Regions from separate parts of the Homo sapiens genome. Here region 1 is linked to region 2. The links are contacts of gene promoters, found by promoter capture Hi-C in blood cells and fetal thymus (Javierre and others, 2016). All regions are on one chromosome and are shown on one strand. The core of a region is centred on a gene start or on the middle of the fragment in contact, and the rest is flanking DNA. Distances in the headings are between cores, read along the strand shown.

Region 1 (6,632 bases), core at 457-2,956, about 28 Mb before region 2:
TTGCAGTATTTTCTTTAATCAAGAAACTGCACACATCTGGCTTTTTAAATTCTCAGACCTTTCTGGATAATGGAATTGTTCTATTGTACAGAGGAAGTTTTATCTGTGGCAATAGGAATGATAGAGAATCAGGTTAATACTACTGTTTAGGCAACCAATTTCCTGTTGTTTTGTGTTACTTGCTTCCTTCAATTACCTCCTCCATTTTCTTCTCATTTCACTTCAGAATCATTCCTGTAGAATCATCCTGTAATGGATTTGTTGTTTCAGTTGTTGGTGACTTTCAGGGATGTGGCCATTGACTTCTCTCAGGAGGAATGGGAATGCCTGGACCCTGCTCAGAGGGACTTGTACAGGGATGTGATGTTGGAGAACTACAGCAACCTGATCTCATTGGGTAAGATCATCCTACGTAATATTCAGAATTTGTTCCCCATAATTTCTGCCTCATTCATTGTGAATTTCTGATCTCCATTCCCTAAGGAAAGGCTTACGTTTGAGTAGAAGTAGAAATGGACAGCTCCACCGTGTACCTTTTTATCTCTTATCCTTTAGACTGTCACATCTTTCTCTGTCACTTCCTGTCAGTGTCTCCCTTCTTTGATGCCAATGGACTAGATTTGAATCTGGGAATCCCCTAGCATGACCATGCACCATTTCCTTTCTTTTAAGCTGTATGTGCAGTCCCTAAGCCAAATATACTTTCCTTACTGGAGCAAGGAAAGGAGCCCTGGATGCTGATGAGAACCATGACATAAAGACAGAGCTCAGGTGAATAAAGGCTGGTCACAGTGTCAGCTATTGCTAATAATACAGCTGATCCGTAGGTGGCAGCACTTTGAGGTGTGTGCCTGAAGCTCTCTTCAAAGGCCTGTGGAAAGAAGGCTTGAGACATAGGGAGAGCAGGAAGGTTATGTGTGTGAGTTCCCCGTGGAACCTCCCTCCCAACTCCCATTTGCCACTCTTCTGTTTTACATTCCCTTTTTGTTTTAATAAGGGAGCTACCTTTGGTCTGATCTCTTTTGGGGACAATGCTTTTATCTATTTTTTGAATTACGTTTTTCCTGGTTGCTCTTTTATAGTTAAACTTGGATAAGTATCTCTAGCCAGCACATACGTACTGAGAGCTTGCTACGTTCATAGGTTAGGAGGACCAGGAATGATAGCTCAGGGGAGGTAACATTTGAATTAAGACCTGAATAAAGTTGGCTGTAAATCAGGGAAAGGTGTGTTCAGGCAGAGGGAAGAGAAGATCCTGAGAGAAACTGAGCTTCACTTGTTTGAGAATCAGCAAGAAGGCCAGTGTGGCTACTGAAAGTGGAAATTTGAGGTGAGGTTAGAGAAATAGGCAGAGGTCAAATCATGTAGGACCTTGTTGGTTGTTGCAAGCAGTGAGATTTTATTCTAAGTGTGATAGGGAGCCCCTGGCTGACTTTTTGCAGACAAGTAAAGGATCTTTGTTTAGAGGTCACTGAGTGCTATGTGAACAGTGAGGATAAAAATGAAAGCAGGAAGACTAATGAGAGGACTAGTTCAGAAGTTCACACTAGAGATAACAGTGGCTTGGAATTGGGTTTAATATGTGGAGGTGATGAGAACAGGCTATATTTTGAAGGTAGAATTAATACCTTCATAATGGAGTTATTTTGAAGATTGGCAATAGAGGCATCAGGGTTTGGAAGGCTGGAGAAGGAAGTCAAGAGTTACGTATTTGATATGCTCATTAGATATCTGTGTGGTGAAGTTAGATAAGCATTTGGAAGCCTGTGGGTGGAGGGGATAGTCAGGACTGAAGAGATAAATATGGGATTACTCTCTGTACCGAGGAACTGAATGAGATTATGGAGCGAATTGGTTTAGACGGAAGGCAAGGTACAGCTCAAGGACTGAACCATGGGGTGTTCCAACATTCAGTCAGGAAAACAATCTAGCAAAGGAAATTGAGGACTAACCTGAGTAACCTGTGACCTAGGAAGAGGGAATGCAGTGTATTGGAAGCCAACTGACAAAAGGAGGAAGCAGTTAGCTGAGAGAGATAATGCTAGGAGTTCAAGTAAGAGGAACGCTGAAAATTGGCTATTGGATTTGGCAGGATGAAGGGTGTTGGTGACCCTGACAAGGTGGGTTTGGCAATGAGAGGAACAAAAACCTCATTGTGGAGTATTTAAAAGAGAGTGAGAAAGAAGTAAGTCAACAATAAAAACTAGAGTGGGACAGTGAATTAACTCACCAGGCACTGTTGAAGGCCCATTTGAGGAACCCTCAAAGTTACAAATAGAGTTTACAATATTTTAGAAGGTTTTAAGAACACTGTAATAATTAGGGGAAAGAAGTGTGATTAGAGTTTATATATGCAGTATTATTTCAACTACATAAAAATCCATGGAACAAATTTAGGAAGGAAATATGGCAAAATGTTAATTATGGTGGTAGGAGAGAAAGAAAAGCAAAAGGTATAGACAGGAAGCATGCATACCTCTTGAGAAGTTTTGCCATTCTCCTGGTTCACCCTGCAGCTCCTGTCCACTGCAGGGTGAACCACAGAATCAGGAGAGGTTTTTGTTTTTTGTTTTTTTTTCACAGGAGAATCTTTAAAATGGTGGTAGGCTGGGCACAATGGCTCAAGCCTGTAATCCCAGTACTTTGGGAGGCTGAGGTGGGTGAATTGCTTGAGCCCAGGAATTCAGGACCAGCCTGGGCAACATAGCAAAACCCCATCTCTACTTAAAATAAAAATTAGCAGGGCATTATGTCACATGCCTGTGGTCCTAGCTACTTGGGAGACTGAGTTGGGAGGATCATTTGAGCCCCGAGGTCGAGGTTGCAGTGAACCATGATCACGCCACTGCATTTCAGCCTGGGCGACAGAGCAAGACCATGTCTCCAAAAAAAAAAAAAAAAGAAAGAAAGAAAGAAATGGAGATAAAATGCTGGAGGGGTGGTATAAAGGTAAATGATCTGGTAACTTCAGTGGTGGTGGTCAAAAAGGACGGTTGCTTGAAAGTGTGCTTTAAGACGTGTTGCTGTTATTGGTAATAACATCCTTTGACATTATGTATTATTATGTTAGTACAAGTTGTGCTAATCATTATTAAAAAGAGACTAATCTATTATGGATTTGGCAATTGGGGGTAGGAAACATGATGTTTGGGAATGAAATGATTAGAATATAAATAAATTGTCCTATTATTGTAGGAATAGTGAAAGATGTGAATAAATTTTAGCTTGTCTTTTTCCCAAGGGGGTCTCACGTTTTAAGGCTTCAGTGTTCTTTGGTGATGGATTTTAAGAATAGGCATATTTCAAAAATTTCAATTGAAGTAAATAATGCTAGAATTATTGAAAAAAATTATGTGGATGTTTCTAGTTTTGGTATTTAAACATAGATGCTGGTCACTTTTCAAAGTGTTATAGTGGAACTAATTCAAGTGTAATAGGTGTCTTAGTTCATACTGTGTTACTATAAAGGATACCTGAGGCTGGGTAATTTATACAGACAAGAGGTTTATTTGGCTCGTGGTTCTGCAGGTTGTACAAGAAGCATGGCACCTATGTCTGTTTGGCTTCTGGTGAGGACCTCAGGCTGCTTCCATTCATGATGGAAGGTGAAGGGGAGCCAGTGTGTGCAGAGATCACATGGTGAGAGGGGAAAGGTGACAGGCTTTTTTAAAAACCAGCTCCCTTGAGAACTAGTAGAGCGAGAGCTCAGTCACCCTTGAGGGAGGGCATTAATCTGTTCTCGGGGACCAGCCCCCATGACCCAAGCACCTCCCACTAAACCCCATCCCCCAAGACGCCATACTGGGGACTAAATTTCAACATGAGATTTGGTGGGTACAAACCACATCCAAACCATAGCAGATGGTATTTCATGTTGTATATCCATCAGTGTAGTTATTGTCATGGCATGCCTGATAAATCAAGAAAATGTTGTGGAAAGAAAGTCAAGCTAACACCTACAAATACAAAATGGATTTTGGCTCAGGTTGAGTGTATAACCTGAAAATATGGGAATCAGTGAATAAATCCTGTGATGGTGAAGACTGCAGCTATTGATAGAACATGTTAGAAATGTGCTGTAGCACAGTATATATCATGAGGATTGATGTCTGCTGATGAGTTAGAACAGTTCCTGTTAGGCCTCCAACTGTCAGCAGGAAAATAAAGCCTAAACCTGATAATATAGCTGGAGATCATTTAGTATTACCTCCATGTAGGGTTGCTAGTCAGTTAAATACTTTAACTCCTGTTGGAATAGCAATAATTATAGTAGCTAGTGTAAAATACATTCAGGTATCAATGTCTATCCGTGCTGTAAATATAGCCTCATACGATAAAGCTTATGAGCTAAATTGATATTATGGGTCATATTATTTCTATATAATCAAATGGTTCTTTTTTTTCCAGAATAATAGGTAGCAATATGTGAGATTATTCCAAAACCTGGTAAAATAAGAATGTACACTTTTGGATAGACAAAAATATCAGAATAAATGTTGGCCTAAAATTGGATCTCCTCCTCCAGCTGGATCAAAAAAAGTATATTAAGGTTATGGTCTGTCAGTAGTATGGTGATGCTGGTTGCTAGTACTGGGAGAGAGAGTAATAAAAGCACAGCTGCAATTAATAGTGGTGTCTGGTATTAGATATGGCTGGTGGCTTTATAACTGTAATAAAATTAAAATTAGTAGCTCTGAAAATTGATGAAACACCTGCAAAATGTAATGAGAAAATGGTAAGATCTTCAGAGGCTTCTGCATGTACTAGATCAGGCCATCTTAAGTTATTTTATACGGTGAAAGGTAGGGTCCACTTTCATTCTTCTGCATATGGCTAGCCAGTTATCCCAGCACCATTTATTGAATAGGGAATCCTTTCCCCATTGGTTAAGGGTCACCTGTTTTCCGATGTCACAGTACTGCTGCTTCCTGTAGAAGGGGCTTCCTCCACAGGGCCTGTGTGAATGGGTGTTGTGCTGGTGTCAGCTGGTTGGGTTGGTCTGACCTCAGGCCCTGGGGGAAATGGTCAGGCGCCAGCAGAGTTGGAATGGGGCAAGTAGTTCCCCAGTTCCCCCCAGGCCCCTAGCTGGCCCACTGGACAACCTGTGTGAGACCTGAAGGGGCTGGACTGCAGTCGGGCTAGCCCAGAGTTCAGGTGCTGGCTATGATGTGGGGAGGTGGGACAGGTTGGTTTCCAGGTCACTGGTCGAACTCTCATGCAGGGTCCTACAGAACACTTAGGTGGTGGGAGCCCAAGGGAATATCACGGTATGTGGGGTTTGGATTTTCAGAAGGGCTCTGGGCTGCAGGTGAAATGTTCAGGTGGGGGCAGGGCGGCTGTGCTGTGGGCCTTTCACTGGAGCAGGACTCCTGCAATGGAGACTGACAGCTGCGGAGCACGTGGCGCGCTTGCCCTTCCCTCCCTTCCAAACAATGCCGAACTTCACTGTTTAGGGCATACAGAGGTGCCAAGTGTTATCTGTTACCTCTGGGAGTTCTGCCCCAGAGGAACACAGAACCTCAGGCCACCAGAGTTTAGGCGGAGGTGCGGTTGCTGCAGAGGTGCGGTTGCTGCGCTGGAAGAGCCTTAGCCGCCTCAGAGGAGGTAGGGCAGGGGTTGCATGGTCTGCTATCTGGGAGGTTCCTGGGGGAATGTGGAGCTGTGCCTGCCTGCAGAGTTCAGGTGGGGACAGGGTCGCTGTGCTGGGGAGCTCAGGCGGGGGCAGGGTGAAGCCGAGCCTTTCCTGGCGAGGAGGGGCTGGGCATTCTGACCGCCCCTCAGCACTGTGACTGCGGCTTCCACTGGGGTTATGGCAGCTGGCACCAAGCTGCTCAGGGATCCGGGGCTTGTGGTGCTCCACATGGGCTTGAGCAGTGCCTCTGCAAAAACTCTAGGTGGCTTTCTGTGTTGGTCTAGTGGCCCAGGGATGGGAGTTGGGGGTTCCTCCTGTGCCCAGGATTGCAAAGGGCCATGTGGGAAGTGTGGCTTCCCCAGGGACTCTCACTCTCTCACCGTTTCACCATGTTAGGGAGCTTCTCCCACTCCATGCCAGTCCCAGGAAGGTGGCTGCCTGGCTTGTCTCTCTGTTCTCTGTGAGTTCCCTGGCGTCCGTGGTAAATCCTGACATGGTCTTCTAGACCAGCGCTATCCCAACCTTTTTGGCACCAGGGACTGGTTTCATGGAACACAGTATTTCTGGCCGTGGGGAGTGGGGCGAGAGGGGAAGGGCGGACTGGTTTGGGGATGAAACTGTTCCACCTCAAATCATCAGGCATTAGTTAGATTCTCATAAGGAGCCCGCAACCTAGATCCGTCCTGTGCACACTTTACTATAGGGTTCGAGCTCCTATGAGAATCTCAAGCTGCCGCTGATCTGACCGGAGGCGGAGCTCAGGTGGTGATGCTCACTCGCCCACTGCTCACCTCCTGCTCTGCAGTTCGGTTCCCCACAGGCTGCCAAACAGTACGGTCTGTGGCTCCGGGTTGGGGATCCCTGTTTTAGATGATCCACTTAAAAGAGACAGTATTTACTTCCGACTTTGTTTCCTCTCCCTGAGAGTGGTGCACACTAGCTGCTTCTAGTCAGCCATCTTGAGTGCCCCCCTAGAGTTACATTTAAATTTACATTGATT
Region 2 (6,578 bases), core at 2,253-4,752:
CCATGTTGGTCAGGGTGGTCTTGAACTCCCAACCTGAGGTGATCTGCCTGCCTTGGCCTCCCAAAGTGCTGGGATTACAGGCGTGAGCCACTGCACCCGGACCTTTTTTTTTTTTTTTTTCGAAACAGAGTCTCACTTTATCACCCAGGCTGGAGTGCGGTGGCATAATCTTGGCTGACTGCAACCTCTTCCTCCCGGGTTCAAGCGATTCTCCTGCCTCAGCCTCCCGAGTAGCTGGGATTACAGGTGTGTGCTATCACGCCTGGCTGATTTTTTATCTTTTACGATGTTGGCCAGGCTGGTCTTGAACTCCTGGCCTCAAGTGATCTGTCTGTCTCAGCCTCCCAAATTGCTGGGATTACAAGCCACCGTGCCCAGCCAGAAAACAAATTTTAAAAGGGGCAAAGGAATTGAACAGAAATTTCTCCAAAGAAGCATACAAATGGCTAACAAAGCACATTAAATGATGCTGAACATCACTAGTGTTAGGGAAATACAAGTCAAAATCATGAGGTATCACCTCACACCACTAACACAGTTAACATGAAAAACACTAAAGTGTTAGCAGGGACGTAGAGAAGTTGGAGCCCTCATACATTTCTGGTGGGAATGTAAAACAGTACAGCCCCTTTCAAAAACAGTGTGGCAGTTCTTCAAATTCTTAGATAGTTACTGTATGGCTCAGCAATTCCATTCCCAGATATATACTCTAGAGAAATAAAAACCAGCTGAGCGTGGTGGCTTATGCCTTTGTGGAGGCCGAGGCGGGCAGGTTGCTTGAGCTTAGGAGTTTGAGACCAGCCTGGGCAAAACCCTGTCTCTACAAAAAAATACAAAAATTAGCTGGGTGTGGTGGCTTATGCCTGTGGTCCTAGTTGCTCAGGAGGCTGAGGTGGGAGGATCGCTTGAGCCTAGGAGGTAGAGGCTGCAGTGAGCTGTGATTTCTCAAAAAATAAAAGCCAGTATGCACAAAAAGATATATGTGAATTTTCATAGCAGCATTAATCACAACACCCCCAAAGTGGAAACAAACCATATGTCCATCAACTGAAGACAAATCATATATGGTATATACATAGAATGGAATATCATTCAGCAATAAAATAGAATGATCTAGGCTATAATACAGATGAACCTTGAAAAACGGGCTAAGTGAAAAAAGTTATTCACAAAAGATTGTATGATTTTTAGGCCGGGCATGGTGGCTCACGCCTATAATCCCAGCACTTTTGGAGGCCGAGGCAGGACTACTTAAGCCCAGGAGTTCGAGATCAGCCTTGCAACATAGTGAGACCCTGTCTATACAAAAATAAAAATAAATTGTATGAGTATATCCATATGAAATGTCTACAAAAGAAAAATCTGTAGTGATAAAGTAGGTTTGTGGTTCCCTGGAGCTTAAAGAGGAGGTAAATGGGTTTTCCCATTCAAAGATTTCTTTTAGTGTGATTAAAATGTTCCAAAATTATGTTTGAACAACACTGCGAATGTACTAAAAAATATTGAATTATATAGCTTTAAGTGGGTGAACTGTGTTGGTTATATGTGAATTGTATCTCAATACAGCTGGTCTAAAAACCAAAAGGGAAAAATCACAATAATAGCCACATCATTGGGAGCGTAAAAATTTAATGTCTATTAAGCATTTAGGGTAGTAAGATTTAAAAAACAGCTACCGCCAGGTGCGGTGGCTCACACCAGCACTTTCAGAGGCTGAGGTGGGCAGATCACCTGAGGTTAGGAGTTTGAGACCACCCTGGCCAACATGGCGAAACCCCATCTCTACTAAAAAAAAAAAAAAAAAAAAATACAAAAATTAGCTGAGCGTGGTGGCGCGTGCCTATAATCCCAGCTACTCAGGAGACTGAGAAAGGAGAATCCCTAGAACTCAGGAGGTGGAGGTTGCAGTGAGCCGAGATCGTACCACTGTATTCCAGCCTGGGTGACAGAGCAAGACTGTCTCAAAAACAAACAAACAAAAAAGCTACCATTATTATTATTATTACCACGGAATATTATTAGTTGATACAAAACCACTGGAATGAAAAGATTATGATCTTGATATTGGCATAAGTAAATGTATTACTGGCATAGAGTCTAGAATCAGATACAGGTATACATAGGAATTTATAGTTTAATAAACATGGAATTTGAAATCAGTAAATCAAGGACAGTTTATCAATATGTGGTACTACAATAATTGGCCGTGTTTCTGGAGGAAAGAGATATTGTATCCACTATCCCACACCACATACTGAAACACATTCCATGAGTATGAAAGATTTCAATGTTTTTAAAGTAATATGCTGCAGAAGAAAATTAGGAAATCTATATGTAATCTAGAGTTTATGAAGACTTCTTAATGCAAGAGAGGAAACTTAAAAAAGAAAATCTTTTTGAGTTGAAAAATTAACTGCAAAATAGTTACCAGTTCAGTAGATTCACAAAATATTTGATAATGTACATGAACAGTTCTTCATGTTAGTAAAACAGTGTTCAAAATAACTTTATTAACTCCATAAAGGCCACCCACTACAAAGCACAGCAAAAACGATTTCTGGAGAAACTAGAATCACTCCTGCAGAAGTGAATGCCTGATATCAGTGCTATTTTACAACGCGGTATTTTACAACGAGGCCCTGGAACTCACTGTAAGATCTCAGAAAACAATATATTAGTCAAAGAAAAAAAAATCAACATTTACAAAAAGTATCAGCATATTGAATACACAAAGGAATCAACTATTAGAATTTAGCATGGCGTCCAGATAAATGAAATAAGGGGAAATATTGGCCTCAAGTTGAATTGGGCCCGGCGCCGTGGTGCACGCCTGTAATCCCAGCCTTTTGGGAGGCTGAGGCGGGATGATTGTTGGAGCCCAGGAGTTTGAGATCAGCCTGGGTAACATACCTCAACTCTGGGGGAAAAAAAATTAGCCGGGCATGGTGGCCTGCGCCTGTAGACCCAGCTACTCGGGAGGCTGAGGCGGGATGATGGCGTGAGCCCATGAGTTTCGCCCCACAGCACGCCAGCCTGGACTACACAGTGAGACCCTGTCTCAAACAAAAACAAAATAAAAAACTAAAACTAGATTGAATGAATGGAGGAGATAGGCCATATCATGGACTGGCAGGATTATCAAAGGAAGCATCATTTTGAGGGTGCTAGGAACGTGGGAGGAGGTGAGAATAAAAGCTTTTTGTGAGCATTGTGCACATCCTGTGGGGGAGCCCCCACCTCTAACTTTGCCAACACCACCGACCCCACCCTAGGTTAGCCCCGTCCGCAGGGCTGGTTCTAACCTCAGCCTTGTGCTCTGGGCCCCTTTTGGCCTCCATCCCTCAAGGTGAGCAGACTCCAAGGCCTCCAAGGCGTCTCCGTAGCCACTGGGGAGTAAACCAGAATCTCTCTGCCTGAGGTTGTTCAGCTCGGCTGAGGTTGCAGTTCCCGAGCGCTCCTCCAGGTTTGAGGCTGGAGGCGGAAGTGACGTCACGGAGCGCTGCTGTGTTTTCCGGCGCTTTCTCCGCGCCGCCAAACCCGTTTTCTTCCTGGTGGCGTTTGGGCTTAATACAGCTTTGGCGAGGTCGGATGACGGGTGGGAGCCAGCGGTGGAAGGGGTGGCGAAAGTACCGGTTTGCCCCAGGCCGCCGAGGGGCCTCCTTAGAGAGACCTTGCCTGCTCCGCTCGCGTCCGCCGGGGCCGCGCGGGTCCTCCTGGCGCCGCCAGGTTCAAAAAGCCACTCGAGTTGTCACTGCGACGGCCCTGGGCCAGGAGCCGTTTCGGGATCTGTCGTAAGGGCGCTTCCTCACGATTTTTGCAAACACGGTGATTGCCGCTTCAAACTCTTCCAAAGCAATTCTTTGTGACTTTTTTTTTTCCAGAAACAACGAGTTTTCGTCGTTCGAATCAGGTTGACTGGTCCTTCATCCCCCCAATCTCCCGTACCTGGCGAGTCCAGCTCGTCGCGGTGAGTACTGGGGTGAAAGTTGGTTTCGGGGGCTTCTTCCTCCTGTTTTATCTGAGAATTTGTTTTTCTCTTTGCGCATCCTGTATTTACTTTTGACACTCTACATTCAGGTAGAAACATAAAGCTATTTTTTAGGTATCTGGGGTGTGGTTATTTCTCTATGTGAATATAAACGTTTGTAGACCAGAAGTCTTTCTACTGAAGAAAAGCAAGAATACTCAGCTATTCTTTTTATCTGAACTTCCTAGGCCTGTACCTCCCCACAGAGCTTCAAAACGGGCTTTTAGGAAGAAGGAATGGAGGCTTTGAAGTAAGTTGAACATTGCAGGCGTGACACTTAAGGTTTAAATGCTTGGTAATACGTGTCCTGTGGATAAAGACATGTCCTTTTAAAACCATAATACTATTACCCCAGAAAATTTAAAATGTTGTTAATATGTACCCTGTGTAAAAAGGTACAGTTCTCCACTTTGTTCCAATATATGGTTTTGATTGTTTTGGGATCTATTACGTATCCAAGTTTCATGTCTTTTAGTCTCTTTAAAACTAGCAGACACTGTTTATCCGTTATATTGTCTTTTTGCGCAGTCACTCGTTCTTTCAGAAAGTTATACATTTTGGTAGTTCTGATTGTATTCTGTGCCGTGTTTAAATGTATCCTTCATTTATTGGTGTATCCTGTAAATGGATGAGTGTCTGAATGGTTAATTAAGGCATAGTAAAAAAATTCAGCCTAGGGCTGTTCTTAGGGAGGTTGTAAACTAGTGGAGGAGGCTGTCATGTAACCAAGCAAATAAGTGTATTACAAATTGATGAAGGTCTGTAAGTAAAGTAGAGGACAGAATTATTTTCTCTATTTTTCTTTGGAATAGGCAATGCTAAGAAAAGAGTGATATGCAAGCTGAGACCAAAAATATGGTATGATTTAGCCATACTGAAGGGGAAGGAAATAAGAGCTGGGCAAAGCATTCTGTGAATTGGCTGACTCCACTTCTATGGTGAGAGAGAGGAGTGCATCAAAGATTACTCCCAGGTTTGACAGAGTCAGTATTCTTTCTTTGGTTGGGGAAACAATGTGGTGGGATAATTTAATCTTAAATGTATGACAGGAAATAGTAAGTGATATCTTTTGGGAGACAGAGTTTCGCTGTTGCCAGGCTCCAGTGCAGTGGCAGGATCTCGGCTCACTGAAACACTGTAACCTCCACCTCTTGGGTTTTCAAGCCATCCTCCTGCCTCAGCCACCCTAGTAGCTGGGATTACAAGTGTGCGCCACCATGCCTGGCTAATTTTTGTATTTTTGTATTTTTTTTTTTTTTAGTAGAGATGGTTTCAGCATGTTGGCCAGTCTGGTCTCAGACTCCTGACCTCAAGTGATCCACCCACCTCGGCCTCCCAAAATGCTGGGATTACAGGTATAAGCCACTGTGCCTGGCCAAAGTAAGTGATATCTGACAAATGATGTAAATCAAGGGAAAATAGGAGAAGCATGAATGTGTTTTAATTACATGAATAAGAAATTAATTCAAGGGATTAATGAGAATCAGTGCTTGATCACTGAAAAATAAGCTCTCCATGAAAATTCACTGATGTTAATTATTAGTCTTAGGAAATATGTATATTCATAAACAGACAAAACTTCTCTCGTTGTTTTTTTCAATTCACTTTTGGGTTCCTTCTCCTACCTAAATTAGTCCTTCGTTTCCCTGAAGGAATGTCCAGAGTAAGCACTCTGCGTGACTCCTTATAGACACTCATACACCTAGGGGGTTGGCTTGATACAATCCATGTAAGTAAATGACCAGAAAACTCACCTGCCAATGTGGGCTGCCAAAAAGCTGTGAAGGGGCCACATGGCCTGGAAATACAACAGATCTTAGAATAATGTCTGTTAATTATAACATCGATGACGGAAAAAAAATCAAATTCCAGTAGGGCCACTCTGTAGATTCTGCACGTTCTTCCCATGTCTGCATGGGTTTTCTCTGGGTACTCTGGTTTCTTCCCACATGCCAAAGATGCACATGTTAGCTTAATTGGTGTGTCTAAATTGTCCCACTATGTGTGTGTGTGCCCTGAGCTGTTAGGATGGGCTCTGGCCATTTTCATTCTGGAACTGGAATAGGTGGATTGGAGAATGAATGAATGAATACAAACTATTGTAAAATAAAAATTCCTAAAACATTTGATAATGATACAACTGTACAACAGTAAATGGTACCACTTAGCAAGCTGGCCCCATTTGTTATTGTTTTTGAGCTTCTTGGTGGTAGGAGGTGGTCCTTAGAGTTTTTGCTTTGGAAGCATTTATTTGTTTTAACCCACCACTGTTAACTGCCATCACATACCAATTCATCAAAAATTGGATAAATAGCCTATTTTTATTAGTCTTTCTTAAATGTATATATATTTCACATTTATTTCAATATTTAATATTAGAAGTGTTTGGGGTCTTTATTTAGAAGTTTAGTGATGTTTTTGTGACCAGAAATATGCTGTAGGAGCTTAACTCGCTTATATTAATTAGCATGTGAAAAAATTCGCTTTGTTGTATGTCATTTCGCTTAAAGTCTCAGTTTCCAAGAACCTGCTGATGACTTTAAGTGAAGAC

Evidence for each region. The method cuts DNA at HindIII sites, captures the fragments that hold promoters and counts their contacts. A CHiCAGO score of 5 or more calls a contact.
Region 1: a contact is called between a fragment that was not itself captured here and the fragment with the promoter of ZNF266 in region 2, in 1 of 17 cell types (non-activated CD4 T cells). The highest score is 5.2, in non-activated CD4 T cells.

Annotation. Positions count from the first base shown.
Region 1 is chr19:37,577,736-37,584,367 of GRCh38, reverse strand. ZNF571 (zinc finger protein 571) reads left to right here. Exons shown (of 4, transcript NM_016536.5): 3 at 271-397. All of the region lies in intron 5 of ZNF571-AS1 (ZNF571 antisense RNA 1), which reads right to left. It also overlaps a transcript of ZNF540 not described here and the pseudogene MTCO1P41. Among named protein-coding and RNA genes, the nearest start is that of ZNF571, 14 kb to the left of the region's middle. The HindIII fragment of the contact is 5,270 bases long and covers 1-4,341 here.
Region 2 is chr19:9,432,497-9,439,074 of GRCh38, reverse strand. It overlaps ZNF266 (zinc finger protein 266), which reads left to right and starts at 3,502. Exons shown (of 11, transcript NM_001370374.1): 1 at 3,502-3,791; 2 at 3,882-3,967; 3 at 4,216-4,277; 4 at 4,840-5,000; 5 at 5,289-5,407. It overlaps LOC105372269 (a long non-coding RNA gene), which reads right to left and starts at 3,434. Exons shown (of 3, transcript XR_007067133.1): 1 at 3,303-3,434. RefSeq lists an enhancer at 3,582-3,711. The HindIII fragment of the contact is 21,418 bases long and covers 3,198-6,578 here.